2 separate regions of the Homo sapiens genome follow, and region 2 is linked to region 1. The links are contacts of gene promoters, found by promoter capture Hi-C in human tissues and cell types (Jung and others, 2019). All regions are on one chromosome and are shown on one strand. Each heading gives the region's core, a stretch centred on a gene start or on the middle of the fragment in contact. The rest is flanking DNA. Distances are from core to core; before and after follow the strand shown.

Evidence for each region. Contacts are between HindIII fragments. The study calls those that stand out against the background at their distance.
Region 2: a contact is called between a fragment that was not itself captured here and the fragment with the promoter of ZDHHC4 in region 1, in 1 of the 25 tissues and cell types used here (mesendoderm cells).

Annotation. Positions count from the first base shown.
Region 1 is chr7:6,575,546-6,579,244 of GRCh38, forward strand. It overlaps ZDHHC4 (zDHHC palmitoyltransferase 4), which reads left to right and starts at 1,909. Exons shown (of 8, transcript NM_001134389.2): 1 at 1,909-1,953; 2 at 3,021-3,175. RefSeq lists a silencer at 1,929-2,258 and an enhancer at 2,537-3,152. The HindIII fragment of the contact is 8,419 bases long and covers 1-3,699 here.
Region 2 is chr7:6,916,338-6,920,036 of GRCh38, forward strand. No RefSeq gene overlaps it. Among named protein-coding and RNA genes, the nearest start is that of CCZ1B, 92 kb to the left of the region's middle. The HindIII fragment of the contact is 5,631 bases long and covers 1-3,699 here.

The DNA of each region.
Region 1 (3,699 bases), core at 659-3,158:
ATTTTTGGTTTTAAGCTTAAGTAGTCTGTTTTCTCTTATGCTATTTATAAAATGCAGGTGTCAAGGTTTGCGCTTGGATGTTTTAAAGAGGCAAAAAATCAAACATGCCTAGGTTTCAGGAACTGACCAAGTGCTGAGAGATTAATCTTTTTTTTTTTTTTTTTCTGAACCAGGGTCTTGTTTTGTGGTCCAGGCTGGAATGCAGTGGTGTGATCCTAACGCACTGCAGCCTTGACCTCCTGGGCTCAAACAATCCTCCCACCTCAGCTTCCTAAGTAGCTGGGACCACATGTGCATGCCAGCACACCCGGCTAATTTTTAAATTTTTTGTAGAGACAAGGTCTCCATATGTTGCCCAGACTGTTCCCAAACTCCTGGGCTCAAGCGATCCTCCCACCTCGGCCTCCTGAAGTGCTGGAATTATAGGTATGAGCCTTGGTTTTTCAATTCTGGGTCCATAAATTTATGAAGACCTTGGATACAATGTACACAGGAGAAGGCATCCTGTTGGTAAGGAGTTTCATAAAAAGGAAAAGAAAACGCATCAAGAAGCTGACGTAGGTAGCAAAGAGACAGGAAAAGAGAAGAGCTTTAAGGCCAGTGTTTGGAGATCAGACATTTCCCCTCAAAGGAGGACAGGCCTGGCTCAGGTCTTCAGAGGCATCAGGAATAGACCCTGGCCTCAGCTGATTCAGAGATGGTCAGAGCAAAGGACACCCCACAGGGCCTTCTCAGGGCTATGTTTGGAAGCAGCTCTTGTTACCCCAAGCCTGCCTAGCATCAAACACCCTTCCCTTTTATCCTCAACGTTTGTGGTCAAGTATTTGTCACTGCCCCGAGGATATTTAGGGCTGTACAGAGCAACATGTCCTTGTCATCAGGAGCAAGGACACACATGGAGCGGAATCTGACTGATGGGTACACATTGTGCTTTCTGCCCGCTTCTGCAACGGAAGATGCTGGAAATGTTCTGCTAGATCTCAACAGTGTGGGTGGCTGAAAGCAAACTCTGTCCACCACACAGACATAGTCTGAGAGCCCCCTAAGTGTGACTGCCCTGGGCCACCTGGATCCCCCTGCTGGGCTCTGAGCAGGGACATGACTGGTCTCTGTGCAGGCCGCAGGGCAGCTTAGTCCCTGTCACAGCCCCAGAATGATCGCCCCCACCAGGCCCAGGTCGGTCCTCCTGTAAGTCTCCTGGCAATACTGCTCTAAAATCCCACTTCCAGCCCAGTGCAGGGACTCACGCCTGTAATCTCAACACTCTGGGAGGCCGAGGTGGGAGGATCACTTGAGCCCGGGAGTTCGAGATCAGCTTGGGCAACATAGTGAGACACCCGTCTCTACAAAAAAAAAAAAAAAAAAAAAAAAATTAGGCGGGTGTGGTGGCATGCACCTGTGGTCCCAGCTACTTGGGAGGCTGAGGCAGGAGGCATTGCTTGAGCCCAGGAGTTGGAGGTTGTAGTGTGCTAGGATAGCGCCATTGCACTCCGGCTTGGGCGACAGAGCGAGGCTGTTTCTGAATGAATGAACGAATACATAAGTAAATAAGAAAATAGGTAATACATAAAATAAAATAAATAAAATAAAATAAAATAAAATAAAATAAAATAAAATAAAATAAATAAAATAAAATAAATAAAATAAAATAAATAAAATAAAATAAATAAAATAAAATAAATAAAATAAAATAAAATAAAATAAAATAAAATAAAATAAAATAAAATAAAATAAAATAAAATCGCACTTCCCAGCGGTTACACCCGGCCACGGAGGTCCCCAGGCTGGCTGCGAGGGCGCCGGGGAGGTCACTGTTACTCCAGCCCCGCAACCCGCGGCGGCCCTCGCACACTTCCGCCGGAAGTCAGCCCCTCAGGGGCGCCGTGCTGATGTCACGAGCCCGCAGGAAGTCTCGTATCGCGCCCGGGAGGCGCCGGAGCCCAGCGGCTGGCGGTAAGGCCGCCTCCGCGGGGCTGTGGGAAGCTTGGGCTGTCCCAGGACCGTCAGTCTCCTCCTCTGACCCTCCCTTTCCCCTTGTGTGTAGGGCCGCCGTCCCACCCCCACCTCGCCCGAGTCCGGGGCGGCCCCGGTGTCCCCTCCGAGCCTGCTGCACTCCACGTCCCCCTACCAGGGCTCCAGCCCCCAGGGAAATCTCCGACCAGGCCCGCCCAGGAGGTGCCTTGGATGGGGGTGGCTTCGGGAGGCCCTAATGGGGAGTGGCGGGGAGAGACCCAAGGCTACCGACTTGGCTTATTTCTTCCCAACTAGCTGTTTCTCACAAAGTCTTTATTATTATTGTATTTTGAGACGGGGTTTCGCTCTTGTTTCCCAGGCTGTAGTGCAGTGGCGCGATCTCGGCTTACTGCACCCTCCGCCTCCCGGATTCAAGCAATTCTGCCTCAGCCTCCCCAGTAGCTTGGATTACAGGCATGCGCCATCACGCCCAGCTAATTTTTTTTGTATTTAGTAGAGACGGATTTCACCATGTTGGTCAGGCTGGTCTCGAACTCCTGACCTCAGGTGTTCTACCCGCCTCGGCCTCCCAAAGTGCTGGGATTATAGGCGTGAGCCACCGCGCCCGGCCTCTTTTATTGTTTTTAGAGATGGGGTCCAGCTCTATGGCCCAGGCTGGAAGGCAGTGGCACGATCACAGCTCACTGCAGCCTCGACCTCCTGGGCTCAAGCCATCCTTCCACCTCAGCCTCCCAAGTAGCTGGGACCACAGGCGCGGGCCACCACGCCCCACTGATTTTTAAATTTTTATGTAGGGACAGTGATCTCACTGTGTTGCCCAGGCTGGTCTCGAACTCTTAACCTCAAGCTATCCTCCTGCCTGGGCCTCCCAAAGATTTGGGAGCAGGCCTAAGCAACTTAGTCTGGGCCATTTCTCCCAAAGTCTTACCCATTCATGCTGGGGGTGCTGAAAATCCCCTACTTCCAAATCCTTTTCCACAGGTATTCTGCCTTTGACTGCAACTCTTGTCGTCTTATGTGGGTGTTGAATTGATCTGTCTCTGCAGCCAGATCCAGGCTCCTGGAAGAACCATGTCCGGCAGCTACTGGTCATGCCAGGCACACACTGCTGCCCAAGAGGAGCTGCTGTTTGAATTATCTGTGAATGTTGGGAAGAGGAATGCCAGAGCTGCCGGCTGAAAATTACCCAACCAAGAGAAATGTAGGCTGGGTACCCTGAATCACCCCGTGAGAATTGCTGCTGTTTGTTTACTCTCACCTATCATGTCATGAATAGCTTCTTGTTTGGTTATCTCACTTGGCATTACAGCCCAGAATCTTATCTGCTAAGGTCAAAAGTGACCAGTTCCGGTATCTTTTTTGGTTTGTTTTTGAGACAGGGTCTCATGCTGTCGCCCAGGCTTGAACTCCTGTGCTCAAGCAATCCTCCCGCCTCAGCCTCCACAGGCATGCGCAACCACACTTGGCTAATTTTTGTATTTTTTGTAGAGATGGGGGTCTCGCTTTGTTGCCCAGGCTGGTCTTGAACTCCTGGGTTCAAGTGATCCTCCCACCTCAGCCTTCCAAAGTGCTGGGAGTACAGGCACGAGCCACTACGGCCGGCCAATTCCAGTACCTTTTTTTTCTTCTTTTTTTTTCTTAAACCGCTACACTATGGAAAAGAGTTCCAGTATCCAGTGTCTTTTCTTTTTTTTTTTTTGAAACGGAGTCTCGCTCTGTTGCCCA
Region 2 (3,699 bases), core at 880-3,379, 340 kb after region 1:
TTGTTCCCCAAAGCAGCAAAAAAGCCAGAGCCTGGAAGTTTCTAAAACTTGAAGCAGATGTAAGTGGCAAATCCAAAAAGCCATGCCTAGAGAACAGGTCGGGTGACCGGCTGTGTCTATTCCAGCCTCCCTGTTGGCTCGGTGGAGGACTTCGGACAGGTCTGTCAGTATCCCCTTCTTTGGTTTCACCTTAGAATGAGGGGAAGTCACAGCATTTCTTCGTTTGTATTTCACAGAAACACAGTCAGCAAATGTAAAGAAGTACGGGCGCCTAAATGGTGGTTATGCTGCCCTGGTCTCAAGCTTCATATTCATCCTTAATTGATTCCCAGGCACACTCACTAGTGACCTGGCTCTGCTTCACTGAATGACCCCAAGGGCCCACACTTTCTTAATTCTCCTGTGGACCCTTTATTCACTCCCCCTCATCCTTCCTTTGCTGACGGTGTTTGCTTCTGATTGTCCCAATCTTTTTTTTCTTTTTCTTTTTCTTTTTTTTTTCTTTTTGAGATGTAGTCTTGCTCTGTTGCCCAGGCTGGAGTGCTGTGTCGAGATCTCAGCTCACTGCAACCTCCGCCTCCCCAGTTCAAGTGATTCTCCTGCCTTGGCCTCCCAAGTAGCTGGGATTACAGGCGTGCGCCACCACACCCGGCTAACTTTTTTTGTATTTTTACTACAGATGGAGTTTCACCATGTTGGCCAGGCTGCTCTCTAACTCCCAACCTCAAATGATCCATCTGCCTTGGCCTCCCAAAGTGCTGGGATTATAGGCATGAGCTACTGAGCCTGGCCTCAATCTTATGCTTACAATTCTTAATCTGTTGCCTCATTTTATAGCCACAGCTCAGGTGACAGCTGAGGGATTACCTTCGTCTGTCTCTGAGCCTCTAAGATTTCTATTTTCTTCACCACCTTCCAGGAATCCTTTTTTCTAGCTCTTGGTTGCTGGCCATGTCCTGGACAGTTCAGTTTAAAATCTGACCTCCAGTTCATCGGTGCATCTACCATCAATCCTCATTACCTGCAGATTCTGCAGCTGTAAATTCACGTACTTGATAATGTTTATTTATAGCCCCTAAATCAATCCCAGCAGGGCTTTCCTGGATGTGCGCCAAGTGCTGAAGAGGTTGAATGGCTGATATGCACGGTCCCAGCAGAGCTCCATCGAGGAGCTCCTTTTGGTTTCCGCTCTTATACCATAAATGAATGCCCTTTTCTTGGTTGCTTTGGGGTTTTTTTTTGAGACAGAGTCTCACTCTGCCACCCAAGCTGGAGTGCAGTGGTGTGATTGCAACCTCTGCCTCTTAGGTTCAAGCGATTCTCCTGCCTCAGCATCCCGAGTAGCTGGGACTACAGGCATGTGCCACCACACCCAGCCAATTTTTGTTTTTTAGTAGAGACGGGGTTTTGCCATATTGGCCAGGTTGGTCTCAAACTCCTGACCTCAGATGATCCACCTACCTTGGCCTCCCAAAGTGTTGGGATTGCAGGTGTGAGCCACCATGCCCAGCCAGGGTTCTCTTAAATGTAATGGAAAGAGGAGAATTGGAAAGGCAGAGAGAGAGAACTAGGATCCTGCATGAATGAATCAAGTTGAGTTGGAGAGAAACTGTATTTATAGGAAAGTTAAGGCTCTGAGTTTGGAGGCCAAGCAGGGTGGGGATGAGCAAAGCCATGAGAAGGAAAGAAGGGCTTCAAAAAACAGCTGCTCCTTCTTGATAGATGCAGAGAGGAATCAGGAAAGACCGGGGGCCATGCAGTGTTATTTGTAGCACTTGAATAGCTTGGCTCTTAGAGTTCCAAGACCTCCAGCTAGTGATCCAGAGATGCCATTAGAGGGCAAAAGCGCTCGCTGCTCCCTCATTTGTCACCAGGAAGACATGGTATGGCCCTGGTCTTAAGGACAAATTAGTCAATTGCTTATTGTATATCACGAGATGAACGCTGGGAGAGAGGAAACGCAGGGTGTGTAGGAAGAGGGCAAAACCGGCTACATCTGACCCACCCCAGAGATGAGGAAGGCTTCCAGGTGGGAGGTGACGCCAGGAGGTAACCAGGTGGAAATCACCGTCAAGTAGCAGGGACAGGAGTGCAAAGGCTCAGAGGGAACTTCTCCAGGATCAGCAGAGCTCAATTGTAGGGTGTGAGGCTGTCACAGAGGCTGGAGAAATAAGCAGTGCCTTGCTAAGAAGTCTGAATTTTAACCTGAAGGGACATGAGAGCTACTGCAGGCTGGTAAGCAGGGGGGTGATGCTGGTTGGATTGCAATGCAGAGAAACCCTGGGTTGGCCTGCGTCTGATGGACTGGAGACACCCTTGAAGAAATCAGGGTACAGGCAGTCCTCCGGAGTAGAAATGAGGAAGGTGCCAGCTGAGACCACAGCAGTGGGGAAGAGTGTGAGAGGGATGGAAATTGAGATGAATTCATGGGTGTTTGGCCTGTGCAGTCACACAGTGCCCCATGCTGAGAGGGACCCCGAGCGTGGCTTAATGCTCTGCTCTTACTGTCTTAAAATTCCTCCTCATTTTATGTTTGAATCTATGTTTTGTTTTGTTTTGAGAAAGAGTCTCGCTCTGACATCCAGGCTGGAGTGCACTGGCGCCATCTCAGCTCACTGCAACCTCCACCTCCCAGGCTCAATTGATTCTCCTGCCTCAGCCTCCCAAGTAGCTGGGACTACAGCCACCTGCCACCACACCTGGCTAATTTTTGTATTTTTAGTAGAGAGTGGGTTTCACCATATTGGCCAGGCTGGTCTTGAACTCCTGACCTCAAGTGATCCGCCCACCTCAGCCTCCCAAAGTGCTGGGATTACAGGCATGAGCCACCGTGTCTGGCCTTTTTTCTTGTTTTTAATGGCACTCCGAGAGTTTGCATCTTCTACCACACAAACAAAGCCCAGTCCAGAGACAGCGTCTATTCCTGTAAAGACCTAGATGCAGCTCCCCCAGGGCTGCCAGCATCCATCTCACTTGCCAGTGACGTTAAGAGCTTTCCCACCAGGGAATGTGCCTGGCAGTTGTGGGCAGTCTCTGTTTCTCTTGCTGGCAGACAGAACAGTTCTTCTTTTTTTGAGACATTGTTCCACTCTTGTTGCCCAGGCCGGAGTCCAATGGCATCATCTCGGCTCACCGCAACATCCGCCTCCTGGGTACAAGCAAGTCTTCTGCTTCAGCTGGGATTATAGGCAAGCACCACCACGCCCCGGTAATTTTGTATTTTTAGTAGAGATGGGGTTTCTCCATGTTGGTCAGGCTGGTCTCAAACTCCCAACCTCAGGTGATCCACCCACCTCTGCCACTTAGAAAACAATAAACAAATGGGGTAAAATGGTAGCACTGGGGAATGTCAGCGAAGGGTATAAAGGATGTCTTTGTACTATTCTTGCAGCGCTTCTGTGTCTGGAAAAATAATAATAAATATTACATATTTAATAACTAAATGAATGAAAAAGTGTGCAATGTTTTTGCAGATGTCAACCTTGGCAATGCAATAGGATCATCTCAGAAGCTCTGCATGAATATCAGTGCCCAGGCTCCAACCCAGAGATTCATAGTCAGTTAGCTGGGGGTGAAACTCCAGACATCGGCATGTGTGAAACACACCCCAAGGTCATTCTAGTGTGAATCCAGAATAATAAGCAGCCAGCTTAGCCTTTAGTGTCATTGGGTGACAGGAAAGTTCTAGGCTGGGGACTT